Regions from separate parts of the Homo sapiens genome. Here region 2 is linked to region 1. The links are contacts of gene promoters, found by promoter capture Hi-C in blood cells and fetal thymus (Javierre and others, 2016). All regions are on one chromosome and are shown on one strand. Each heading gives the region's core, a stretch centred on a gene start or on the middle of the fragment in contact. The rest is flanking DNA. Distances are from core to core; before and after follow the strand shown. Region 1 holds the start of PLA2G12B (phospholipase A2 group XIIB). Region 2 overlaps MICU1 (mitochondrial calcium uptake 1).

Region 1 (6,111 bases), core at 2,029-4,528:
TAGTGGTGGGGTTTTGCCATGTTGCCTAGGCTGGTCTTGAACTCCTGAGCTCAAGCAATCCACCCACCTCAGCCTCCCAAAGTGCTGGGATTACAGGCATGAGCCACCATGCCCGGCCCTGATAAGAGATTAATATCCAGAGTATATAAAGAACTTCTGACACTCAACAATAACAAAAAACCCAATTGAAAAATGGACAAAGGTCTTCTTAAATAGATGTTTCTCCAAAGAAAATATACAAATAGCCAATAAGCACATGAAAAGATGCTCAACATCACTAATTATGAGGGAGATGCATGAGATACTACCTCACATTCATTAGGATGACTATTGTCAAAAAAAAAAAAGGAAAACAACAAGTGTTGACAAGGATGTGGAGAAATTAGAAATCTTGTCCATTGCTGGCAGGAATGTAAAATGGTACAGCCACTATGGAAAGCAGTATAATGGTTCTTCAAAAGTTAAACATAGAATTACCATCCAGCAAACCCACTTCTAGGTATATAATACCCAAAAGAATCGAAAGCAGGGACTTGAATGGGTATGTGTACACCAGTATTCATAGCAGCAGTATTCTCAGTGAAGTATTGATACATACCACATGGATGAACTTAAAATTATACTAAGTGAAATCAGCTGGACACAAAAGGACACATATTATATTATTCCATTTATATGGGGTACCTAGAATAGGCAAATTCCTAAGAACAGAAAGTAGAATAGTGGCTGCCAGGGGCTGGGGAAAAGGGGAATGGGGACTTATCACTTAATGGGAACAGAGTCTCGGTTTGGGATGATGAAAAAGTTCTGGAGATGGATAGTGGTGATGGTTGCACAACAATGTATGAATGTTCTTAATGCCACTGCATTGCACACTTAAAAATGGTTAAAATGGTAAATATGTTATGTATATTTTACCACAATTTAAACATGTATAAAGTTTCAAGAAATGGGGGGACAATACTATTAACAGCTCTAGTAACAGTTGCATCAGCAAAAAGATCCTTCTCAAAACAAAAAAGTATCAAATATTTCTTGCCATCTTACAATTGCCAAGAGCAACTGACATCACTTTCAGTTACACTGATTGAAAATTAGGTTGTTAGAAGTATAAACTTTGATGACCTAATCAATGAATTTTCAGAAAAGTCAGAAAAATCCTATGATCAAAATATTGCATACTTATAAAGTAATATATAGTATTATATAAAATTATGACACCAATTTTTAAAAAATTTATGTATATATTGATACTCATGTATCTCTATTAACCTTATTATATTTTACAAATAATAAAACATTTTTTAAAGGAAAAAGCTTTATAGTTAGCTTTTTTTTTTTGAGGCAGAGTCTCACTCTGTCACCCAGGCTGGAGTGCAGTGGCACGATCTTGGCTCACTGCAACCTCCACTTCCCTGGTTCAAGCAATTCTCCTGCCTCAGCCTCCTGAGTAGCTGGGATTATAGGTGCACGCCACCACGCCGGGCTAATCTTTTTGTATTTTTAGTAGAGACGGGGTTTCACCATATTGGCCAGACTGGTCTTGAACCCCTGACCTCAGGCAATCCACCTGCCTCGGCCCCCCAAAGTCCTGGGATTACAGGTGTGAGCCACCGCGCCCAGCCTATAGTTAGTATTTTAATGGCAAGTTCCCCTGCTTTTGGAAAAGGAGCTCTGCATTTGCAGTTTTGTTTTGGTGAAGCCCTACAAATTATGTAGCTGGCCCTGGTGCCAGCTTTCCCATTGATAGCCTGTCCAGCTTTGATCAAGTCACTTACCCTCTGCATCAGTTTTCTCACCCCCAAATGGGACTATTTAATCTGCTTCATGAAACTGGCATGAACATTTGTGCATATGTGCATGTGTATGTGTGTGCCTCTGTGTATGTGCATATGCATGAAAGTGGTTTGAAAAAGTATAGATGCTTTAAAATATTGGGTGGCATTGTTGTGACTATGAATAATTTTTAACCACTGCCCTTCCTGGAGTCTGAGTCTTCAGCCAAACACATTTACTGAAAATGAAGAAATTAATTCATTTAATTCATTATTTTCCATGGGGCTTTCCAGACAAACATTTGAGAAAGGAGCTAAATGATTCATGTGGTCCATAAAGGTATCATTTTTATAGACTGGTGATTATTTTATTATTACTATTTTTTTGAGACAGAGTTTCGCTCTTGTCGCCCATGCTGGAGTGCAATGGCGTGCTCTCGGCTCACTGCAACCTCCGCCTCCTGGGTTCAAGTGATTCTCCTGCCTTAGCCTTCCTAGTAGCTGGGATTACAGGCGGCTGCTACCTTGCCTGGCTAATTTTTGTATTTTTAGTGGAGACGGGGTTTCGCTATGTTGGTCAGGCTGGCCTCAAACTCCTGACCTCAGGTGATCCAAACGCCTCGGCCTCCCAAAATGCTGGGATTACAGGCATGCACCACCATGCCCGGTCCTAGACTAGTGATTTTATAGATGGCATTTCTTCACACGACTAAAAGCAGTCTAAACTGAAAACGATGCCAAAACACTAGACTTCAGTCAACAGTCTTAAAAGCCTACACTCCCAAATAGACTATTTGATAAACCCTCTGACTTCTAAGAAACTCAAAGGAAAAACACCACCAGGAGAGCCGAGTGCCCCCAGAATTGTCCTTGGACCATCTGTAGATCTTGTCTTATGATCCACTTATGCTGAGTGTAAACAGAGATACTGCTGTAAATAGAAGCCAAAATGTCCCTGCACTCAGATGGCTACATCTGGGAGCTCTGCCAAATTAGAGGATTTATGCGTCAGAGCCAGGTGGGTTCCACAGCAGAAGCTGGGGTCTCAAATCTGAACTTCTGCTTAACACACACTTGGTACCTACTCTGACACTATCGTGACCCTTGGTAAAGTGACTATTAATTCCTACCGCTGGGGCTTTCCTGGGCCCTGTACACATCCTCCTGACTCTCCTTGGAGACTATGTAGGTAGCTGGCTGAGGGGTGTGGCTAGGACCTTCGGTCAAGCTCTTCTATCAAGAGGCTGGCCCTGAAGAGCCACACTTGTAACTGATCAACAGCTTAACAAGCTGGTCGGGGTAGAACTCCGAATCCTTCACCGTTCCTGCGTCTCAGAAGCTGGCTAACATCTCCCTCCCTCCAGGGTGGTAGAATCCACTTTGAAATGTTCTCTCTCCCTGGCCCTCCCACTCCCTAACCTTTGCCCTCTTTCTAATTGCCCTGATCTCATCCCAACCTCCATAGCTATGTTTAAAGTCCACCTCTGGGGAACAGACAGATTGAATGTTCCAGATAATCCCTTTCCCAGTCCTGCCTGACATCTGGGTAGGGGGTTTGTCCCTGGAATTCTGGGACACTGGCTGGGGTTTGAGGAGAGAAGCCAGTACCTACCTGGCTGCAGGATGAAGCTGGCCAGTGGCTTCTTGGTTTTGTGGCTCAGCCTTGGGGGTGGCCTGGCTCAGAGCGACACGAGCCCTGACACGGAGGAGTCCTATTCAGACTGGGGCCTTCGGCACCTCCGGGGAAGCTTTGAATCCGTCAATAGCTACTTCGATTCTTTTCTGGAGCTGCTGGGAGGGAAGAATGGAGTCTGTCAGTACAGGTGCCGATATGGTGAGTGTGCGGTTTCTCTTTCTGTAAAAACTGTTGCTGGTGGACCCATGGACAGCCCCAGAGAGGTCACGATCTGTCTTGCACTTTTTCCTGTTATCCACTTAGAGCTGCCAGATTTAGCAGATAAAAATGTAGGACACCCAGTGAAATGTGAAATCCAAATAAACAACAAATAAGTCATTAGTATAAGTATGTCCAGTGAAATATCTGGGACATACTTATCCTGACAAATTCTTCGTTGTTTATCTCAAACTCACATTTCACTGAGCTTCCTGTATTGTATCTGGGAAACCTTCCCTGGGCCATTTTAATGAGTTTGTTGTGAGGCAGTTCTTAGGAAAAAAGGGTACCTGGGGTGGGAAGAAGGAGGGTGGGTATGAGAGGCCTCTGTGAGGAGTTCCCAGGGATGAAAACTGAAGCCGAACATTCAGAGAAAAATCTGCCATGGGGCAAAACCACCTCCTCAGCTGCTCTGTGCTCAGCTTGGAAACAAATTCTCCCTTCCCCCTGCTGCAGTTCACACCGTCCTCCCAGCTCTCAGTCCCTGACTGGCATCAATTTGCTGGACTTTCTCAAGGGAGCTGTCCCTGCCTGCAGCCTCGGCAACGACAGGCATGCTGTGGAGAGGAAGGGTTCGTGGCTCACCAGGGATCCCGGGGCTGTCCCCTGGACTTGGCGCCAGATGCAGATTTGTGAGCTGGCAGGAGCACTTCCCCTACCTTGCCTGAATATGGCTGGGGGTACACAGATATAAGGTGCACACCTGGCTGCCGGCACAGAGCCCCTGGTCCCAGGGGCCCTGGAAGTTAATGTAAGGGGAGCAAAATGTGGAGCCCCAGGCCTTGAAGCTGGGTGGCATCGTGTAATTGCCAATGCGCATGAAAACGTTTTCCAAAGCATGCACAGTCTCAGGTCTCAGGTAGCATTAGTTTTATGGTTTAATTTATCAACTATCTCATCAAGGGATTAGAAATGAAAATGGTGAGTCAATTTAGCCTAACAGGAAAACACATTTGAGAAATATTTTCTCCAAATACTCAACAGAGAAAAAGTCAGCTTTGAAGAGATGCACAAAAAAACTACATACTTCCCGGACTCACCCTTAAGTCTCTCTATTCCTTTTTGAGTGGGGAAAATCGCTTCCTTATACACTAAGAGTGACTAGGAGGTAATGGTTAATCATTGCATCAGGACCCAAAGTTTTGCAGCATAGATGTTTTAACAATCTATGGTTAAAATCTATGTTTTAACCATCTATGTTTTAACCATCTATGCTGCAGCTTCTTTGTGAAAGTTTCACAGAGAAAAATGCCTGGTCTGTTAGGACCCACCTGGCCCTAAAACCATGTATTTGTCCAAGGCAGTTGGACCAACGCAGAGGCCTTGCCACTGGATTATGCTCACACTGTTTGCACGGATGGGACAGGGAAGGGGTTGACTCACTTCAGACATTGGAATCAACACAGGTGTTTTCCTTCCTAAAGGCAACACAGGACTAGTATCTGTAGTTCAGCAAATAGGCAACAGCAGGAATTTTTATTAGGAAATCAAGAACCAAATCCTATTCTTCCTTCTCTAGCAAAACAGCATTAAAAGACTTAAGCAAATTTTAGTTGCGGAGCCTCTGGCTGGGCAGGGTGGAAGCCAGCAGCAACTGGTGGGGGATGGGAAGAGTAAATAGAAGAGAAAGGCAAATAACTCTTCTCACTTTGTGTAAAACAACCTGCTCAAAGAGGGGCCTGAAAAACACTTAGAAAAATAGGCGGTTATGCCTCCTTACCTTGGAACCCAGTAGAGCCAAAAACCTGGCGGCTGTGCCCAAAAGAGTACAAAATACCTTCTCAAACTGATTGTGAATCGAGCAATCTTTTGAACAGACAACACCTAACAACGAGTCTGCTCTTTTGTAGTTTGCTTTGTGACACATCTCTCATGCACCGTGCTCGTCTTTTAAGTAGTGGTTCTCAAACTCACCTGTGAATTGAAGCCCCTGGAGGGCAGATTCAACCAGATCTCTGGGCCCCACCCCAGGTGTTTCTGATTAGTAGGAGATTCTGGGCTTAGGAGATCCTCCTGCCTCAGCCTCCCAGTTAGCTTGGGCTACAGGTGTGCGCCACCATGCCCAGATAATTTTGTAACTTTTTGTAGAGCAGGGAGTCTCACCATCTTGCCCAGGCTGGTCTCCAACTCCAGGGCTCAAGCAATCCTCCCAACTTGGCCTCCCAGATTGCTGGGATTATAGGCGTGAGCCACGGCACCAGCCAGATTTTACCTTTGATAGGTACTAACTACTATTTAAAACAGTGGGTTTCTAACTTGGGTACACTTCAGATCACCTGAGGGGCTTTAACAACACCTGGCACCAAATCAATTAAATCAAAATTTCTGTGGGTTGGCCCCAGACATCAGTATTTTAACATTTTTCCCAGGTGATTGCAAAGCACAGCCAAGGTAAAGGGGTGCCATTCTATGACGTCATTCTTAGAGAACTTCAGCCCACAG
Region 2 (6,111 bases), core at 1,302-3,801, 570 kb after region 1:
TTATACCAGTGGTTGGGAAAGAGTGAGGCCAGAGTAGAGACAGGAATACTTTTTATCTGGCTTCTGCTGTGAGTCTCAGCTGTCTTCATTTTTTCCCAAAAGGTTAGAACCTTCAGAAATTGGCACCTTCTAGGCCCTGGCACTGTCTCTTCCTTGGCTATTTTAGAGGTTACAAACCAGTCTTTAGGCATAATTTAGCACAGAATTTTCCAAACAGCATTGTGAAGAACACTGTATACTGCAATATGATGATGGTTCTGTGGATTTAAAAAGAAAAAAAAAAGTATTCCATGGTTCAAATAAGTTTGGAAAATGCCAGAGTTATATAGAATTTCTTCTTGCAGCACTCCTGCTGCCAACTTTTTAATATATGAAGGTGCATTATTAATCTCTGGAAGAGGGATATAGTTTCCAAATTTGATTTACTCCAGACCATCTTTTAATAACTTACAGAGTTAATGTTCCTTGGAATAATTTGAAAGATCCAGGCAGGTGGCCACTGCAGATTTACTGTATTAGAACATAGTCCAGTTCCTCCAGAGTAAAAAATGTCACATTTCTTTTTTTTCTTTTTCTTTTTTTCATTTTTTCTGTTTGCCCCTCCTACCATTTGAAAAAAACATCAAATTTAATTAAGGCTATTTCTTTAGTTCTGCATGACCCATGTGAGAGTAACAACCATCAGGTAATAATGAAGTGTTTTCAAGAGTTCTAACCATCTGAAGAAAGAACCTTTCTCCATGAAATACTGTGTGTCTCCACTATCAGGCGTCTCTTCGTTTAGCACTTAAGAAGAACTGGTTCTATTGCTCATTCGTACGCACACTGGGCATAAAATTAGATCTATGACCTCTCAGCGGCTGGCTGATTGATTTAAGTGGTCTGCTGAAGAAGGTAATGGAAAATTGAACATGACTCCTTTCCCAATGGCTTTCTATGATGAAAAAGTTAGAAATTATTTGAGCTGGAGCTCTAGAGTGAGCTTCAGCCCATATAACTCAGAATATTCCAATTTCTGCCAGGAGAATATCCAGGTACAATAAAGCTCCACTGTAAAGCACCTCAGGATAGTACAGATGCAGTAAACCTGTGGGTTCAGTTACGTCCTCGGTGTACTTTGAACTATAAAATCAGAAAATAATCACACAAATATAGTCCCTGGTCTTTACTATTCACGCCCCTGCACAATTCTACTTACACTGAAAATTATAATTTATGGCATAGTTGGCCTTGATTCTTTGTAGTTATTCTATACGTGCAGTTTACCTTATTATCTGACAAGCCAAAAGAACAAATAATAAAATCTATGGCATAACTCCTACAGGAGCTTTCTGCAACCCCAAGTATTTTTTCTGAAGTTTTAGTCACATCTTCAAATGGTCTCAGTTTCTTTTGTCTCTGGAGGGACAAGGATGGCAGAGATGACCTCTGAGAACCTTTGCAGCTTTCAAATTCTTTGAGTCTAATAATTGGAATGAGTAAGGGAGCCTCAAGTCTTTTGTCATTTAGGCTCTAACTGGATTGTTGGGGAAGTCAGAAATTACTGATGGAGTCAGCAATTTCTAGCACACAACAAACTCTTATATTCTGAACAACTGTCTTTAACAGACAAGCTGCCACCCACTCCTGAACTGTAATAATCCGGTAGCACTGTCCTGTCCAGGACTGTGAGGCCATCACACATCTGGAACACTAACAGCAACTCTCATTTCATAGTAGTTTCTCTGTGCCAGGCACAATGCTTAGTGCTTTATGCATGTTATCGCTTTTAATCTTTAAAACCTGAATTATCCTCATTCATCTTCACTTTATGGATGAGGAAAATATCAAATGAAGCCACTTGATCGTGGTTATCCAGCTTAGTGGTGGAAAAGCCAGGATTCAAGCTCAGGTCTCTCTAATTCCCAGTCTGTGTTCTTTCCACATCGTCGTGTTGCCTCTCAGTATACTCCACAATTCTGTTAGAGTCTGAAAAGCTTTGCTGAAGCACAATCCAGAGGGGACTGTGGCTTTACCATTTCAAACCATGCTTCACAGTAGCATTGGGAAGACAGACTCTGGACTTTTTTTTCCCAGTTGCTTTTGGCTAAGAGTTGACCATTCTTAGGGTGAGAATGAAGTCCTTTTGATAAACTATGATGTTTTAGAGATAGTGCCCTTCTCTTGAATATGAAATGTGACCTTTTTTTCCCCTACAATTGTCTGTTCTGTTCAGGTATAGGTTCTACAGCTCAGACACAGACATCCATAGTCCTTACCTTACAATAACAGACTCTTGGAGTTGTCTAATCTAGCTTCTTGTCCTGCATAGGAACGCCTTAGTAGACACATCTGTGATCTTTACCTTTGGAACCATATTACTTTTCACTGAGGAAACCAATACACAAAAGCCTGAAGTTATTTAAATAAAGTCATGTAGCAAGAAAGTTGATATCCTTTTAAGGGATACCACAGACCAGAAAAAGGCATGTATGCTAAGCTGCGCTTTTCTCAACATCAAAATACAGGATATAGATACACCTTCCAATGACCAAGGTGTTCCTCACCACCTCCGCTCATTGGTATACCAGTGCTCTGTTGCACTTTTAGATACTGTTCTAACATCTAGCATTTATTGAGCGTTAACTATATGCAAGAAATTGTGCTGAATATAAATTTTGGTTTTAAGTTCAAACCTGAGTTTGAGTCCCCGCTATTCACTAGTTTTGTGACCTTGAACAAATTCCTTAAGTTCTCAAAGCCTCAGTTTCCAGATCTGTAGAATGGTGATAGTAGAATACTTGTTTCAGGGTTATTGTGAAAATAAAAAGAGATAATACTATATTAATATACTAGGTTGACATTAAAATTGTACCAAACTGCCTGTTCTGGTTTTCAACCCATAGGTGCTGGCTTTCTTCTGCCTGTTTATCTTATTAGGGGGCTGGAAACAACCTATACCAACATGGCAACATCATAAAAAGTGTTTTTTTTTTTAAATCATCCTTAAAAAAAAAAAAGCACCAGATAAGGCTCTTTGTTCTCTGAGGAAGTGGAATCTACTGCTTTTTTTTAGTCACTTTTGACATTTTTATTAGCTTAGAAGTTCTAAGTTGTTTATACTCATTAATGAGGATTGAAGCTTCTAGGTTCTCCTAAGTTTCATCATTCATCCAAAAATTATTGGTGTCTCTGCCTTCAGAAGCCTTTATTAAAAAAGTTCTCTGTTCCTAGGAATATCTAACCCCTATTGATATGTCTCATATCTTCAGCATTCAAGGGGGAATTCATTAGACTGTAAATTCTCAAAGACTTGAACCATGTTTTCTACAACTTTGTGTGCTATTCAGAGCCTAGAACAACTCTTTATATAAACAGATGTTCGTTTATGTTATGTAAATGAATTAATTCTAGACCTTTCCAGATCCTGCAAAGGATGATGAAATACTCTAGTAAGAGCGTAGGGTGAGGGGAAGAGTGTTAGGACTGTAGCACCTTCCCATGTCATTAATTTCCTTTGACTCCTTGAGCAGGTCACTACTCTGACCCTCAGGTTGGAGTTATAAGTATCTCTAAGGGTTCATGCAGATTTGAAATTGTATGATTATAACTAAATCCGCTTTTTACTGAATGAAGTAATGTTTTAAGTGACATGTCATAGCCTAAAATTATTTCCAAATCTATTGCCTCACAGGGACTGTTAGCCCAACTTGTTTATGTGAAATCTTTATGAAAGTGAACTGACTTATAATTGTCAGGTACATTTGAAGTAAGAGCAAGACTTGAATTCCCAAAAGAAGTGTGGCAGTTTTAATTTATTTCCTTGTTAGGAAATGTAAAACTTAATTAGACCTTGGCTAGTTTCCCTGTAAGATCTAATTTATGGAGTTTGGTATAGTAGGTAAAACAGAATGATGGTTCTGTAAAGTGCACTCTGTCAAAAAATGAGTGCAGGCCAGGGACAGTGGCACAACCTTGTAATCCCAGCACTTTGGGAGGCTGAGGAGTTCCAGACCAACCTAGGCAACACAGTGGGACTCTGTCTCTACAAAAAATACTTTAAAATTAGCCAGGCATGGTGGCACACACCTCTAGTCCCAACTACTTAGGAGGCGGAGGCAGGAGGATCTCTTGAGCCCAGGAGGTTGAGGGTACAGTGAGCTATGATCATGCTACTGCACTCCAGCCGGGGTGACAGAATGAGACACTGTATCAAAAAAAAAAAAAAAAAAAATAGGTGGCGGGGGATGAGGGATGAGTGCGGCTCTATATAACGTAGAAGTTGAGGAACTTCAAAAAGATAGTCCCTTGTCCGGGCACAGTGGCTCACGCCTGTAATCCCAGCACTTTAGGAGGCTAAAGCAGGCAGATCACCTGAGGTCAGGAGTTCAAGACGAGCCTGGCCAACATGGGGAAACCCCGTCTCTACTAAAAATACAAAAATTAGCCTGGTGTGGTGGTGGGCACCTGTAATCCCAGCTACTCAGAAGGCTAAGGTGGGATAATTGTTTGAACCCGGGAGGCAGAGGTTGTAGTGAGCCAAGATCACGCCACTGTACTCCAGCCTGGGCGACAGAGCGAGACTCCGTCCCCCTCCAAAAAAAAAAGACATTCCCAATCATAAATGCCTTCCCCACTGGCCAGTTTCTGTGATTCAGAGTGTTGGCACAGCATAGCTGGGTTCTCTGCTTAGGATCTTAACAAGGATGAAATCGCAGTGTTGTTGGGGGGCCTTCATTTTCATCCGGAGTTCAGGGTCCTCTTCAAAGTTCTTTCCTGCTGTTGGCAGAATTCAGGTCCTTTCAGTTGTAGGACCAAGGATTCCTTTTCCTTGCTGGCTGTTGGCCAGTCATTGCTCTCAGCAGGTGACTACAGCTCCTTGCCACCAGGCCCCTCACAGCATGGCAACTCACTTCTTCAGAGCCAGCAACAGAATCTCTCGCCTCAGTCTGCTAAGATGGATTCTTACATAACATAGTTATGGGACTGACTAGCCCATCACCTTTCTCATATACAGTAACCTCATCACAGGATTATCGTAGTCACAGGTTCTGCCCACCTGAGGAGAGGGGATTACACAGGATATGTGGACCAGAGGGTGGAAATACTGGGCGGGGGGCACGTCAGAATTCTGCTCAGCACACCAGCCATCATTTTAGAAACCTACACCTTTGGTTTTATTATTCTGAAGATAGGGACATTTAAACTGATTTAAATTTTAGGGCTGGAAGATAACTTAAAAATCATTTTGTTTAAACCCTTACTTTGTTTTTTGGTTTTTTGTTTGTTTGGTTGGTTTTTTTTGAGACAGTCTTGCTCTGTCACCTAGGCTAGAGTGCAGTGGCATGATCTCAGCTCACTACAACCTCCGCCTCCTGGGTTCTAGTGATTCTCCTGTCTCAGCCTCCCAGTTAGCTGGGATTACAGGCACACACCACCACGCCCAGCTAATTTATATATTTTTAGTAGAGACAGGGTTTTACCATGTTGGCCAGGCTGGTCTTGAACTCCTGACCTCAGGTGATCTGCCCAGCTCGGCCTCCCAAAGTGTTGGATTTATAGACGTGAGCCACTGTGCCCGGCCTGCTTGTTTTTAACATTCATAAAGGGAAATGACTTGCTGAAATCACAGACCAGAAGTTCAGGTTCAGCGACTTCCACACCAGGGTTCTCATTAGTACCCTGGCACCTACTGCTGCTAGAAGGACCTAGAGAATTACATCGAGGACTCAATGCTTTTATGTGATGCCGGAAAGTGGGGCAAATTCACAGCAAGAATGTAGGGAGAGCATCCCCCAGACAGCCAAGACATGGCAGGAAGGCAGGAGTGTCACAAAGACATGTAAGGAAGAGATTACAACAGGAAAAAAGCTCCTATTTTATAAATTCTTTTAAAGTTTGTGGGAGGCAAGCTCTTGCACTTCAGTTCATCATTACATTTGGTAAAAACATTTATATGTGAAGAGGAGTGTTGGCCAGGATTCCATTCATTTAAGACAGAGTCATCAATTTTTAAAGTAAAATTATTCATGATGTAGGCAAGGAAGCTCAAATTCTGAAATAAATGTTTGCTTTATGAGGCATTTTCTCTGCAGAGGCCTGGTTTATTTTCCCAAATTTAAAGTCACTTAG

The links. The method cuts DNA at HindIII sites, captures the fragments that hold promoters and counts their contacts. A CHiCAGO score of 5 or more calls a contact.
Region 2: a contact is called between a fragment that was not itself captured here and the fragment with the promoter of PLA2G12B in region 1, in 1 of 17 cell types (endothelial precursors). The highest score is 5.8, in endothelial precursors.

The regions. Positions count from the first base shown.
Region 1 is chr10:72,951,973-72,958,083 of GRCh38, reverse strand. It overlaps PLA2G12B (phospholipase A2 group XIIB), which reads left to right and starts at 3,278. Exons shown (of 4, transcript NM_032562.5): 1 at 3,278-3,609. The coding sequence starts at 3,399. The HindIII fragment of the contact is 2,206 bases long and covers 1,320-3,525 here.
Region 2 is chr10:72,384,660-72,390,770 of GRCh38, reverse strand. The region is part of intron 10 of MICU1 (mitochondrial calcium uptake 1); the gene reads left to right. Among named protein-coding and RNA genes, the nearest start is that of DNAJB12, 33 kb to the right of the region's middle. The HindIII fragment of the contact is 1,145 bases long and covers 1,979-3,123 here.